3 separate regions of the Homo sapiens genome follow, and all the other regions are linked to region 1. Evidence: promoter capture Hi-C in 16 types of primary human blood cells and fetal thymus (Javierre and others, 2016). All regions are on one chromosome and are shown on one strand. The core of a region is centred on a gene start or on the middle of the fragment in contact, and the rest is flanking DNA. Distances in the headings are between cores, read along the strand shown.

Evidence for each region. The method cuts DNA at HindIII sites, captures the fragments that hold promoters and counts their contacts. A CHiCAGO score of 5 or more calls a contact.
Region 2: a contact is called between a fragment that was not itself captured here and the fragment with the promoter of ZNF783 in region 1, in 1 of 17 cell types (naive CD8 T cells). The highest score is 5.6, in naive CD8 T cells.
Region 3: a contact is called between the fragment with the promoter of REPIN1 here and the fragment with the promoter of ZNF783 in region 1, in 2 of 17 cell types (total B cells and erythroblasts). The highest score is 10.0, in total B cells.

The regions. Positions count from the first base shown.
Region 1 is chr7:149,260,294-149,265,044 of GRCh38, forward strand. ZNF783 (zinc finger protein 783) reads left to right here and starts at 1,903. Exons shown (of 6, transcript NM_001195220.2): 1 at 1,903-2,064. The coding sequence starts at 2,041. It overlaps LOC124901769 (a long non-coding RNA gene), which reads right to left and starts at 2,048. Exons shown (of 2, transcript XR_007060582.1): 1 at 1,354-2,048. RefSeq lists a silencer at 1,501-2,370. The HindIII fragment of the contact is 3,928 bases long and covers 1,086-4,751 here.
Region 2 is chr7:151,087,207-151,091,957 of GRCh38, forward strand. All of the region lies in intron 1 of AGAP3 (ArfGAP with GTPase domain, ankyrin repeat and PH domain 3), which reads left to right. LOC124901778 (a long non-coding RNA gene) reads left to right here and starts at 1,797. Exons shown (of 2, transcript XR_007060595.1): 1 at 1,797-2,959. RefSeq lists a silencer at 175-444 and enhancers at 665-824, 2,322-2,832, 2,833-3,342, 3,468-3,973, 3,974-4,479. The HindIII fragment of the contact is 2,822 bases long and covers 1,380-4,201 here.
Region 3 is chr7:150,366,225-150,370,975 of GRCh38, forward strand. It overlaps REPIN1 (replication initiator 1), which reads left to right and starts at 2,598. Exons shown (of 3, transcript NM_001099695.2): 1 at 2,598-2,717; 2 at 3,447-3,644. The coding sequence starts at 3,488. REPIN1-AS1 (REPIN1 antisense RNA 1) reads right to left here. Exons shown (of 4, transcript NR_183429.1): 3 at 4,481-4,632. RefSeq lists enhancers at 2,072-2,131, 2,171-2,975, 2,976-3,781, 3,782-4,586 and silencers at 2,382-2,851, 3,362-3,511. The HindIII fragment of the contact is 10,402 bases long and covers 1-4,751 here.

The DNA.
Region 1 (4,751 bases), core at 653-3,152:
GGGAACTAGTTAGAATTGCAAATTCGCATCACTTTCATCCCCTCCTGTTTCAGACCTAGAAATGTTGAGGTTTGTGCCTAGCATCCTGTATTTTTAACAAGAACCCTCAGTGAACATGATGCACACTGAAGTTTGAGTACCACTGACTTAGAGAAACTTTTTTTCTAAAAAACGAAGACTAGCTGTCAAACATTATAGCACTCTTTCCTCAACAGAGCTCATTAAATCCTAGCATTTTTGTCTCCAGCCCATTTTCCTGACCCTTTCTTTCTTTCTTTTTCTTTTTTTTTTTTTTTGAGATGGGGTTTTGCTCTTGTTGCCCAGGCTGGAGTGCAATGGCATGATCTCGGCTTACTGCAACCTCTGCTTCCCGGGTTCAAGCGATTATCCTGCCTCAGCCTCCAGAGTACCTCACCACCACACCCAGCTAATTTTTTGTATTAGTAGAGATGGGGTTTCATCATGTTGGCCAGGCTGGTCTCGAACTCCTGACCTCAGGTGATCCATCCGCCTCAGCCTCCCAAACTGCTGGGATTACAGGCATGAGCCACGGCTCCTGGCCCATTTTCCTGACCCTTTCTGTTTGCATTGGACCTTAACTGTTATTCTATAACGTCACCATTTACTGGTATTTTATAATCCTGAATAGATTGGACTGATCCCTGATAAGATCCTAGGGATGCTCTTAATGTCTTTAGTGCATACTTGCAGTTTGTGTTTTAGATTGGGATAGTTCAACAAGAATTTCCAAAATGAATAATGCCAAATATTTATTTGATTTGTTACCTTAAAGTAACACGTCCTAACCTTTCCGCAAATTTTGGGGTTCACCTTACTTAGGATATCAGTTTGTGTTTTTTCTGATAGTTGACCACGCTTTTGCTTGGCTCAAATATTTGTGAAAATAACTTCTCACCCTCACCCCCCCCCCCCAAAAAAGAAAAAACAAAACCAAAACCAAAAAACCCCAAACAAACCCAAACACAGAAAGAAACAAAACTGCAGATTTCTAGCGGGAAGAGTTTGCCAGCTTGTTGGACAAAGACTGTGAGATGAATGGGAAATGCAGAAAAGACAGAAAACAAAGCTTCAACTGCATACAGCACATTTAGTTCAATATGCCTCAGCACAGGCCGAGGAAAATGGGTCCTGCGGTTTATTCAAGATGCCTCAGGGCCTAAATGAGGGATGGACTGATTCACACTTGCTGTGATCTCAGCCTGGACCAAAGCTACAGAAGGGTCCTCGTGGGTGGCTGAGGACTTTCACCAGGCGGGCCCCGGGAGGAGGAAGGGACCCCAGAGTCCTCAGGAGGGGAGGGCAGGCTTAGGAAAAAAAAAAAAAAAATCCTACCATCTTCACGTTTGTTCTGTCAAATTTAAAAGAGACTTTAAAAACGTTCATGTAAGTTTCCCTGGCTTCTCCCTGGGTACACACGTATCCTTTTTACTTTCCCCAACTCAGTTCTGTGGTGCGTGGGAGGCGCTGCAACAGAGTCTCGGTCCGGACTGGAGCCCCGGCGAGGGCCGACCCCGTTCCCCACGCAGCTTTCCCTCGCGAGGTTTCGCACTTTCCAGCGCGGTTCCTTCCCGCAGCCCTCCCGGCTCCCGCGTGGGACGCAGAGAGAGGTTGGGCGCCGCGCTGGCCCGGGAGTGGCTTACGCCTGACGTAGCCCCGCTGGAGGCCGTGGCACGCCCGCCCTGGCGTCAACTCCCGCGCCCCGGGTGAGGGTGGGTGGCCGCGCCTGGGTCCCGGACGCCGCGGGCGCTGAAGGCCTCGGGAGGGCGCGGGGCGGCGGCCGCGGGCGTGCGGTCCTACGGGCTGCAGGGGGCGCTGTGCGCGTCCTCAAGCTCGGCCGCCGAGCGCAGCTCTTTTTTAAAGGGCCAGCGGGGCACGTGGCTCGGGACGCAGTTCGCTGCCGCCCGGCAGTAGCTCTCAGGTTAGGCGGGTCCCGCTCCGCTTCCGCCGTCGCTGCCGCGCCGCCCCGGGCCCGACAGGCCGGGTCCAGGGACTGCAACCCAGCGAGGGACGCGGGCAGCCATGGCCGAAGCGGCGCCTGCCCGGGTAAGCGCCCTCGGCCCCGCGGACGCCCGGAAGGCCCAGGCCGCCGCCGCGTGAGCCCGCGCGAGGGACTCTGGCCGCGCGAGGCCGCGGGGTGAGAGGGCCTTGCGCGCAGCCTCCGCGCTCGTTGCCCCCGGCCCATCGCCCAGCCCGCGTCGAAGGCATTGACCGGGCGGCCCAAATGCCAGGCCCGGCGGGCGGGGCCCCGACGTCAGCGGCTGACGATCCGGCCCATCTGCGGCCTCAGCCAGGCCGGGCCCCAGAGTCACGCTCGGCGACGAGGAGGCCGCGCCTTAGGAGTATTGTCCCATTTGAGGCCTCGCGGCCCCCCCTACAGCAGGCTGGGCGGGCAGGGGCCGCCAGCCCCACGGGACAGTAGCGGAGGCTGAGATGGGAAGGGACAGGCCCAGGGTCACGCATCTATTAGAGGCGGGAGCCTCACGCCGGGGCAGGGATTTTGGAATTAGACACTTTAAAACGCCTCATATTCTACTTTTGCCAAAGAGAAAGATTGTGTCGTTTACAAGAGAGATAGTAGATTTTTTTAAAAAAGATTACTGTAGCAGATTTTATTTAATTTTTTTTTTTGAGAGGGAGTCTCGCTCTGTTGCGCATGCTGGATGGAGTGCAGTGGCACGATCTCGGCTCACTGCAAGCTCCGCCTCCCGGCTTCAAGGGATTCTCCTGCCTCAGCCTCCCAAGTAGCTGGGACTACAGGCGCCTGCTACCACGCCTGGCTAATTTTTCTATTTTTGGTAGAGACTGGGTTTCACTATGTTGGCCAGGCTGGTCTCGAACCCCTGACCTCGTGATCTGCCCGCCCCGGCCTCCCAAAGTGCTGGGATTACAGACGAGAGCTACCGCGCCCGGCCATTTTAAAATTTTTTAATTAAAAAAGTATATATATATACGTGTGTGTGTGTGTGTGTGTGTGTGTGTGTGTGTGTGTGTATATATATATATATATATATTTTTTTTTTAGACACAGTCTCACTCTCACCCAGGGTGGAGTGTAGTGGCGGGATCTCATCTCACTGCAACCTCTGCCTCTGCCTCCCGGGTTCAAGGTATTCTCCTGCCTCAGCCTCCCAATCCCAAGTAGCTGGGATTACAGGCGCAGGTGCCTGTCTCATTTATATCTATCTATCTATCTGTCCAGATACATATCTATATGAATAAGTTTATTCATAAGAATACACTATAAGTATTCCTATACAGAATTTTTCTCCTGGAGAAGGAAGAATCACATCAGTTTTTTTGGCATCTTCATCTATATAAGTTAGGCCAGTTTAGCAGATTTTAGAATCTTGGTTTGATATAGTGCAGTATGTCCAATTGGGAGATTATAATCCTTTGGCCATTTTTGACATACTGGAAAACGCTTGTAAAGGCTCAATAGATGATACCTACTATTATTAATACACCTCAGTGAAGGTTTTGAAACCTTGATTTTTCTGGATACTTTTATTAAAGTATAACTTCCTCTCCCTCCTCTTAGTGAGTGTGCTGAGCTTCTTTTTGGGTTCCCTGAGTGCAAGGGAGAGAAAAAGCGTTGAGGATTCTGCAGGTTTATAGTCCTGTTCCCTGGGAAGAGGGGGCCCTAGAAGGTGACATCATCCACTCCCCCTAGCCTGGGGCTCACTGCTTCACTACCTTTCAGATCACTCCTGTCCACCTGCTCCTCCCTTCTTGCAGCACTTGAGATCCCAAAAAACTCCCCAAAAGGGACAGATTTGCCCTGGACTCTTGTTAGCCCATCCTATCACACTGTTGTTGTTTATAAGTATTCCTATACAGAATTTTTCTCCTGGAGAAGGAAGAACCACATCAGTTTTTTCTTCATCTTCACTGTACATTTACTATGATAGGTGTTCAGTAATTGTTATTGAATGAATGAAGCAATTATAGATTACTAGTGCTAAGGGGGAGGGGCAGTGAAAATCTCTAGGATGCGTTGTCTATGCTAGAATCTTAAAAACGAGAGAGACTCAGGCATACAGAGGATGCATATTGAGAGCTGATGTGAAGTTGGAGGAGGGCCGGGTGGGTCCTCGGAATCCACAGGAGGCTGGCATGGCTGGAGCACGACAGGAACTGGATGGCTCAAGGTCAAGAGAGGTCGGCTGGGCCATGAAGAAGTCTAGATCTTATGCCAGGTACACTGGGAAGCTATTGAAGAGTTTTAAGCAGGGTACTGAAATGATCTATTTGTGTTTTTAAAAGATTACCAGGCCGGGAGCAGTGGCTCACTGACTCACGCCTGTAATCCCAGCACTTTGGGAGGCTGAGGCGGGCGGATCACAAGGTCAGGAGTTTGAGACCAGCCTGGCCAATATGGTGAAAGCCTGTCTCTACTGAAAATATAAAAATCAGCTGGGTGTGGTGGCGGGCGTCTGTAGTCCCAGCTACTTGGGAGGCTGAGGCAGGAGAATCGCTTGAACTTGGGAGGTGGAGGTTGCAGTGAGCCGAGATTGCGCCACTGTACCCCAGCCTGGGCGACAGAGCAAGACTCCGTCTCAAAAAAAAAAAAAAAAAAAAGATTAACAATTACTCTGTGGAAAGTGTATTGTCGGGGAGAAGCCTGGAAGTAGGGGAGAAGGCTGGAAGTGGGGGAGAAGGCTGGAAGTGGGGGAGAAGGCTGGAAGTGGGGGAGAAGGCTGGAAGTGGGGAAATCAGGTGGGCAGGACCGC
Region 2 (4,751 bases), core at 1,541-4,040, 1.8 Mb after region 1:
TTGCCGATCTGTGTTGCAGAACCGGCGGGCAGCTTCGCCATATCTCGTTCGGGGACACTTTGGGGTTGGGGGTTTTCTGCTGACTGTGTTCCAGGGCGCGAAGGTGGTGTCGCTTGGGGGGGCCGGGACCAGATCTGTCCAGGCCTGGCCGGGGAAGGTGGGCGCGGCAGAGGGCTTCAGCTGCGGGGAGGTGGGGTCGTGACCGGGGAGGCTTCTTAGCCGCTGCCCGGGCCCTGCTCCGCAGTGGGGCGGGGGATCGGAGCCTCGCGTTAGTGGATGGCAGCCTTCCCGGGCCCAGCGCCCGCAGGCCCGGAGGGTGGCGCTCGCCGCGGCGCCCTCTCCCGACGCACACCCCCTACGCCGCGGCGGCCAAGCGGGAGCGGGCCGGGCCTGGCGCTGGGCTGAGGCTCAGCGACCGCGTGGGAGGCGCCGGCAGGTCCATCCGCGCTTTGGCCGGGTCATGAGCCTGACGGGGATCCGCGGCTCCTCGGTCTGGAGGCAGCTGCTGGGCAGCCGGGTGCTGACCGACCGCCAGGGACACCGCACCCGGAGTCGGGGACCGGAAACCCCCGGCCACTGCGCTGCCTAGCGCTTTTTTCTCTGGGCCCTTAGGCCCTGGACTTTCGACCGCTGAGGGCACAGGAAGTGGTGGCACGCTGCTGGCAGATGCCTCGCAAGCCCTGGTGTGGTGGGTGCTGGAGGCACCCGCAGGCACCCCGGTGGCATGGTGACCTTCGAGCGGGCACGGACAGATGGGCCTCACCCTGGGCCATCTGCTTCCTCCCCCAGCTCTGTTTGAAAGGGGACGCCCACCGGCAGGTGGTGGGTTTGGCCTCAGTGGAAATGCAGTGAGAGCCAAGGCCTTTTGCGATAACATGGAGTTATGGGCAGGGGCCTGTCCCTGACTTGGGCCTTAAGGTTAGGGCCCCACTCCCAGCTTCATCTGCTTGCCTGAGGTTCTGGGGGATAGTGCACCTGAACACCTCCCTTTCTGCTTTCAGAGGTCCCCATAGCCGGGGAAGAAGTACTGGGTCTGGGGGGACCCCATGTGGTGCTGGGTTCTATCTTTTGTTGTGACATGCCAGTCTGACTTCCTTCTGCCTTTTCCCAACCCGTTCTTATTTCTTTCCTCTCAAGGCTGAGTTCTCTGTGAACTAATTAGGTGACAGAAAAAACTCATTAACGTGGATCTGAGTAAATGGCCTGAATCACCGCTGTGGCTGGGGACTAGGAGATGGCATTTGTGCGAGCCCTGGGCCCCAAAGACAGGAGATGACCAATTTTTCCTCTTAGATCTGAAGAGGGTGGAGGCGGGAGAGACATCGTTGCTGCAGCTTCACTGTCCTTGGAGGAAGTAAAGACATTCCTGATTTGCTCCAAGCTTACCTTCCCCCAGCTCCTTCTGGAGGGCGACAAGCCTCGTGGGCCGGCCACAGGAGGGTGGGGGCACATCTGCTTCCGAGCTTTTCCCAGAGCAGGGAGAGGTTTCCGGGCTCCCCTGGCTCCAGCTTGATGAGCAGCGACCCCTCCTCCCCAGCTCAGGGGAGCCTCTGGTTGAGCATCTTTTGTGATGTGAAGGCTGATTCCTGGGGCGCCCTTGAGTTTTTTTTGCCTGATCTTAAATTTAACACAACAGGCAGAATTTCCCCTCCTAGAGCCCTCCCCTGACCGACTTCTCCATTGCGGTTTGGAAATACCCCATGGTTCCGTCTACTAGGCCTGGAAGCTCGGCCTCACCCTCGTGAAATCCCGGGAGCCGGTGTCTCACTGTCACCAGACCGACCCAGCCGCGGCTCACACATCCGTTCTCAGCCCTGCTGTTCCCACTCCTGGGCCCTGCTGCCCTGCTGCCCTGCTGTCCCTCCCTCCCCCCTGCCCAGCCTCTCCTGGCACCGTCATCTTTATCCACCTCACCCGTCTTGCGTTCCCACTTTTCTGCTGTAGGCAGTCTTCAAAAGAAAAAAAAAACCACTCCTTCTCCAGTTTCTGCCCTATATCCTTCCTGCGATAGAACTCCTCTCCATCTGCCAAACCATATTGCTTCTGTCCTGCGAAGCGGTGTCCCCACCTTCTTTCTGCGAGGAGGGAGAGGCGCAGACTCCCTGGGCGTTTCCGAGCACAGTCTGAGGCTGGACTGAGACCCAGCCCTCCACCCCCAGCCCCAGGGCGGAACAGACCTAGGCTGTTACATAAACACAGTGTCAGCTGGGAGCCGGGTCCTGTGTTTCCTGGGGCTAAGCCTCTCGGTGGAAAGGGGCGGCAGTTCCGAGTGTATAACAAAGCCTCCCTCACTCTGTTTAGACTTCGGTGAAGGGTTTGTTTGTCCCAGCTCTGAAGGTGACGTGGGACCTGCGGTCAGGATCCATCTGGCTCTGAGGAAGTGCAGTGGGCACTTGGGCCTCCTGTAGTCTCTGCCACTCACAGTCACTTCTGACCCCGTGTCCAGGACAGGAGGAAGCAGGGGATGTTTGGCTTTCCTGTGTTTCAGGACAGGATTTGAGGAGAGGGAGACCATTTTGAAAAGTTCCTTTCCCACCAGAGGCCAAGGAAAGAGAAAACCTGCCCATTACTTGGCCTTAGGGAGTGGAAGAAGTACAGCCTTCAGCTGGGAGGGAGAGCTGGAGGGCTCACTATGTGCAGAGCCTCTGAGCCACCTTCACCTCACTAGTGGGGAAACTGAGGCTCAGAGAAGGGAGGGAGCCAAGCGGATACAGCCAGGGAGAGTATAGGCCTTCAACAGGAGCCCGCTTCCGGCTTGGCACTCACCTGCAGTGAGCGCTCCCTGACAGCTTGGGTTTCCTGGCTGAGTCCTAGAAAGAGGGATGCAGGAGAACGAGGGCCTCAGTCCAAATGGGGACACTGGGCACGTGGAGCGCAGGATGTTGTACCAAGCTAGCCAGGAGCCCCAAAGGAGCCCGGGATCTTTCCAGGACCTGCTGGTCCCAGTCGTTGTGTGCAGGTGAGGGCCCGGCACAGGGGAGGAGCAGGGGCTTGGGGAGGGCCTGGGATCCCTGCTGGCAGTTCCCAGATGGGGGGGGGGGGCTCCCGCCTGGAAGTGGAAGTGGACCTGACTATTAGGTGTGTGTGCCATATGGCTACTATTATGTGTGCCGGAGCTGGGCTTTGTCAGCTGGGTGACTTACTCAGGTTTCTCCATCGTTTTCCCACTAGGGCTTTTTTTTTTTTTTTTTTTTTTTTTAAACAGTTACTTCGAGCATTCCAGCCGGCCTGGCCTGGCCAGCAGAGCGTTCTCACTGTCACCCTTACCCCACTCACTTTCATTCAGTTCACAGATTGCCTGCCCTGGGCTGTGGGCTTGGTGACATCCTAAAGGGACTAAGGTAAAGAGATGTGGGGGTTTCTTGTTTGGGTCAAGCCTCAGCTAGACAGAGAAGGGGCCACAGCTGTGACTGCAGTTGGGTGGCAGCTCAGAGGGAGAGTAAGACGGTGCATGTGGCCGGGTACAGTGGCTCACGCCTGTAATCCCAACATTTTGGGAGACCAAGGCGGGCGGATCACGAGGTCAGGAGATCGAGACCATCCTGGTTAACATGGTGAAACCCCCGTCTCTACTAAAAATACGAAAAATTAGCCGGGCGTGGTGGCGGGCACCTGTAGTCCCAGCTACTCGGGAGGCTGAGGCAGGAGAATGGTGTGAATCTGGGAGGCAGAGCTTGCAGTGAGCTGAGATCGCACCACTGCACTCCAGCCTGGGCAACAGAGCAAGACTCCGTCTCAAAAAAAAACAAAAACAAAACAAAACAAAACGGCATACGCCCTGGCATCCCACAGCCCTCAGCCCTTAGGCACACCTGGGGTTTTAGTGTTTGTGTCTGTTTCTGTTCGTCCTGTGACTTGATCCTGGAGGACTGGCATGATGGTCCCCATGTTTGTGCCAGGGTGCTCTCTTGAGCTTTCCTTACTGTTCCTGGGTGGGCACTCCCTGGCCGGGCCCTGCATTCCGCCGTGGGCCCTGCTGCACCACACACTGCTGAGGTTCCCTTCAAAGATGAGGACTGGGGGGGTCTGGGATGGGTGCCGGGGACATGCATCTGGAGCCAGCCCAGGCCCCTCTGGCAATTCGTTGGTTTAGGGACTGAGTGTCTCATGGGGGCCTGGTTGCTTATGCAGGACTTTGCTCGCAAGAGTTCTAGCAATTCTGAAAAAGAGCATAACCATGTGGGTGCTAGTAGCCAGGGAAAGCTTCATTTGTTCCAGATACATTCATTTAGCTCCTACTGTGCGGCCCAGTTGCATCTAGCACAGTGAAAAGCAGACAATCAAAGGAGAGACAGGGAGCGAAGGGGCCAGAAGGTCTGGGCTTGGTGCACCTGGAGAGAACGACTCAGCCTGTAGGAGGTGCCAGAGAGGCACTGGGAGTCCAGAAGGAGACCTAGATTTTCAGAAGACCAGGGCAGGGCAAAGGTCAGAGACTTGGGAAACCTCATCACGACTTCTTTCTTCCGGGTCAGAAGCCAGAACAGGAAGACCTGTCCAGCCTGATCTCAGGCTGCATGGCCTCGTGGGAACCCCTGGTACCCTGCTCCATCCAGGGTCTCAGCTCTGGCTCTCCCCAGCAGTGGTACCCCACAGATGAAGCAGTCCTTGTCCCTATGATGCCACCTGGCAATCTTCCTGTATCATTTATTTCTTTCCTCAAACGTGTGCCAGGCCTGGGGGTCCGGAGGATTCCCACATAGAGGAAACAGGATGATGAAGATAACGGAGGCAGGAGAACATAGTGTGGCTCT
Region 3 (4,751 bases), core at 1,348-3,847, 1.1 Mb after region 1:
TCTTGTTTATTAGGTTGCTAGCTGGGTGCCTGGAATTTCCCTTGAAGGAATTCAAGATTTTCCTTTATTTCCATGCTTGCCCCCTCCCCACTTCCTGCAGGCCTGTAAGAGGGGTGCCGGCTCCATGTCAGTTTGGAAGAATAAATGAAGTGATTCTAGCCAAGAAGTTATGAAGAATAAAAAAACCCAGAATCTTTGTGTAGGGGAAGTACTTAAACTACCAGCTACCAAAACTTATTTTCTGTGATAAAACTGCAGACATTCAATGTAGTTTTAGGTTGCGGGTAGCCTCTCTAAACATAACTCTAAAGGCAGAAACCATAAAGGAAGACTGCTAAGTTTTGGCACATTAAAACAAAACTTTCTCGCCGGGCACGGTGGCTCATGCCTGTAATCCCAGCACTTTGGGAGGCCAAGGCGGGCAGATCACGAGGTCAGGGGATCGAGACCATCCTGGCTAACACAGTGAAACCCCGTCTCTACTAAAAATACAAAAAAATAGCTGGGCGTGGTGGCGGGCACTTGTAGTCCCAGCTGCTCGGGAGGCTGAGGCAGGAGAATGGCGAGAACCTATGAGACGGAGCTTGCAGTGAACCGAGATCACACCTCCCTCTACACTCCAGCCTGGGAGACAAGCCAGACTCCATCTCAAAATAAATAAATAAATAAATAAATAAATAAATAAATAAATAATAAAATAAAAATAAAACAAAACTTTCTTATGCTCGCTTCAGCAGCACATAGACTAAAGCAAAACTTTCTCACATCAACAACTGAAAAGGTAGGCCGGATGCAGTGGTTCACATCTGTAATCCCAACACTTTGGGAGGCTGGGGCGGGAGGATCGTTTGAGACCAGCCTGGGCAACACAGTGAGACCCCATCTCTACAGAAGAAAAACATTAAAATAAAATAATTAGCTGGATGTGGTGATGTGATCCTGTAGTCCCAGCTACTCAGAGGCCGAGGTGGGAGGATTGCTTGAGCTCAGGAAGTCCTGGCTTCAGTGAGCCATGATAGTGCTACTGCACTCCAGCTCTGGTGACAGAGTGAAACCCTGTCTCAAAAAAAAAAAAAAAAAAAGTTAACAAGTACGAGGAAACACGTCTGCAACAAACATGACAAGTCTTTAATACCTGTACTTTATGAGTGCCCCCCAAACAATAAACCAACTCCCCAACTTTTAAAATGGGCAAATAGAAAAGTGGGCAAATGGACATAAACAAATTCACAAGAGAAAATAAAACTGGCAAAAAATAACCATGTGAAAAAACAATCCAGCTAACTAGTACTCTAAGAAATGCAAGTACAAAAGATGAGAAATAACCATTTCAAACTAAATTTTTTTTTTAAAAAAGTCTGTGTTGTCAAGTATATGGAAAATGGGCATTTCTCAGGGAAAACTAATACGTTTTCCTGGAAGATAATTTAGAAAACATTTAAAAAATATATTCCTTTTATACAGCCATAAATAATCATGTTTAAAAGAATATCTAATAAAATGGAAGAAAATTCACAAGATCGTGTTAAGTGAAGAAGGCAGAATACATCTTCGCAAGGCATTATTCCAATTATGCCAGACATGCCATGGATATACGTAGAGAAAACACCGGAGGCAACATACCAAAATATTAAATGTAATTGACTCTACGAGGTAAAACTGAGTTTTATGTTCCCCTATTTCCTATTTATGCAATAGATTTAAAAAGTATTTTTACGACTAATTATACAATTCAAAAATTGCCTGTGTTGAAAAGCATGAAAGTACATGAAATTGTACTACCCTGGAAACCCCAGGAAGTGTTTAGTTTGGAAAGCCAGGGCCACCTGCTAGTGGGTGAGTCATGGGCACAGGCTCGCACCTGCCACCGCAGACGCCACACAGGCTGCTGAGCCTTTCCAAGCGAAATGCCCCACGTGCGCCAACGGCCACCTCGGCCGTCGCCCCACGCTTGGCCCGCAGCCAGAGGAAGCCCAGCAACTTCTGCTCTTTCTTAATTTCTAGAAAAGAGTGAAGAGAGGCCTTTTCAAAGTTCGCAGGATCGGGCCTTTTTGTGCTCCACTTTGGAACAAATCGGAAGCTAGGGCCTTCCAGGTGCGCCACCGCCGTCCCGGGACCGCCGCGGCCGCAAGCGTCCGCACTGCGGCCGGGGTGCGCGGCCTGAGAAAGGCCCGGGCAACGACGCTCCGGGGGCTTGCCGGAGCCCTCTTTGAAGTCTCCCGACGGGCTCCCAGCCTCTCATAAGGCAGCTAAGGCCGAACACCCCGGTGACCATAGGCCAGCCACGCGGTCGCCCGGGGACGCGCGTGCTCCGCAGGGACAAAGGGTCGGGAAACTTGAGCTCCGGCCAGTCCCAGAGAAACCCGGGCTGGTGGTCGCCATGGCAACGGAGTCCGACCCTCCGAGGCCTGCCGCCCTGGCGCGGCAGTGGCTTGAGTGACCCGGCCCGCTCTTGGCGGGGGCGCCCGCGCCCCGGCCCCGGCAGTCCCTCCCCGCCCCCAGGCCGCGGCCGCGGGAGCCGGCGACTGACCCTCGGCAGCTCCTGTAGTCACGTGGCGCTGGGAACCCGGCGGGGGGAGGTTGGGGACGGGCCTGGCAGTTGTGAACTCGAACCTGCCGCTGTCGCCGCGGCGGGGCGGGGAGCGAGAGTGGGCCGCGGAGGCCGGCCTTCGGGCTCCATGGACGGGCGCCGCGTCCCTGCACAGCCCGCCGCAGAGGTACGGCCGGGGCAGGGGCGCGGGGCCACCGCGGGCCCGCGGGGGGCCGCTCCACCTGCGGGGCGCGTGACCGTGAGTGTGCGCGACCGTGTGTGAGTGCGCGGGGGGGGACGCTGCTGGATCTGCGGGGGTGGGGGAGCGCACCTGCGCACAGGCTCCGCGAGCTGCGCCGTGCGTGGGACCCGAAATGGCTCACTCGCAAGAACGGGACCCGTGTGCCCGGGAGCGTGGACGGAGGACACGCATCAGTACAAAAGGGCGGTGTGGGGCTTCTGCCACCCGCGGCCAGCCGCGATGCGGAAGGGGATTCTGACGGAGTCGTGGTCACACCAGCTGGCCCTGCGCAGCCCCATGGGAAATAGGCCTGGAATTCCTGTCGGGAGGAGGCTGGGGGAAGGGGAGCCAGCAGGGATTCCAGAGTTCCTGCCATAGGCCGGCCTTTGGCCATCAGGGAAAGCCCAGACTCTGGCCACAGAATGGAGAATTCGTTCCGTGACCTTACCAGGGAAGAAAGTGACCCCGAAAGACAGCAGTGTGCTTCCTTGTTGAAGGGGCACATTCATTTATTAATCCAATGTCCATTAAGGTCACTCTGCCAGGCAGGATGTGGGGCTTATGGCTGGTGCGTGTGGCTTTGTGGGGGGAGGGGTTGTGGCTGGTGAGGACACAAAGCTGACTGCCCTAGAGGAGCTCAGAGCCTCACTTCTGTTTTCTCTTCCCTCCCCACAGGTAAGGCTGGCCTCTCTGCAGTCAGAGGTCTGAGCTCTGCCATGGGGATAGGGGTGTCTTTATTACTGCAGTTTTCTCTAACACCTGGGGGCTACCGGAGTGTGGGCCGAAGCAGGCGCTGCAGCCGCGGAAGTATCCCCAGGAACATCCCCAAGAGGAGCTGGAAAAAGCCTCATCCCCAGCTCTGCAGTCTCCAGGGTAGAGTCTGGCCTTTGCTGTGCTCCCAAACCACGCCACAACAGGGGTGCACGGGCGTCCCCATCCCGGCGGAAGGAAATGGCCCTTTCTCATATCCTGGGGTCTTCCCTGTGCACAGTCTGACACTGGGAATGAGTGACCTTTGTGTTCCCTGAGAAGAGAGAGTGCGCTCTAGGGAATTTAGAAGGATGTGTCTGGAGCTTGTGAGCAGGCACAGAAGGGCCCTTAGGAGCCTAACTGCTTCCTTCCTCCTTCCGCGGAGGAGGCTCCTGTGCAGGAATCTGGGCTCCCCTGAGCTGTGGAAGAGCTGAACATGGGGCAGCCCCTGGCGAGGTTGGGGCAGGACCGGGCAGGGGACTGAGATTGCAGTCTCATCTTCCCTCCCCTTCTATTGCCCCAGTAATCTCCAGCACCCCGAGGGAGGCAGAGCCGGTGATCAGGCCCCGAGGGCAGCAGGCTGTGGGTGTTCCTTGGATTCAGGGAGAGCCTTCCTTCCTGCAATGTCCTAATTTGTGTGGGTGGAAGAGGGCAGGCGGGCAGAATGGGGGCACAGTCTGGGCAGGCGGTGGTCTGGCGTTAGACTGCCGGGAGTAGCACCCAGGGCTCTGCTCCTGTTCCCCGAGAAGGGCTGTTCTCACTTGTCCTCCAGCCTCCTACGGAGACTGCAGTTAGTGATGCTGAAAGTGCCTCCCCTGTGGGGCTAGGAATGAAAAGCTATAGACACCTTTTTCTCTGAGATCTTTGCAAACCCAGGCGCTTTAGAGGAAAGAACACTGGCCTGGGAGTTTAAAGACCTGTTCCCTAGTCTTGATTCTGCTGTTGGCTTACTGTGTCACCTTGGGCAGGTCTCGTCATCTTTGATGTCTCACAGTTGCTTCATCTGTTAAACAGGGAGCTCAGTGTCTGTTTGTCCAGCTTCTCAGAGTTGCTGTGCAGCTCGGATGTGGCATAGGAAACAGCAGACACAGGGAGAGGGCAGCATAAGGCACTGTAGGGAGCAGTGGCCACATTTTCTGGTGAGTCCTGTGGCAGGAATGTTTGTGCATTCAGCACTGGAGCATTTACTCCCTGTCTGACACTGGGGTAGCTGCCATGAGGGGGATTCTA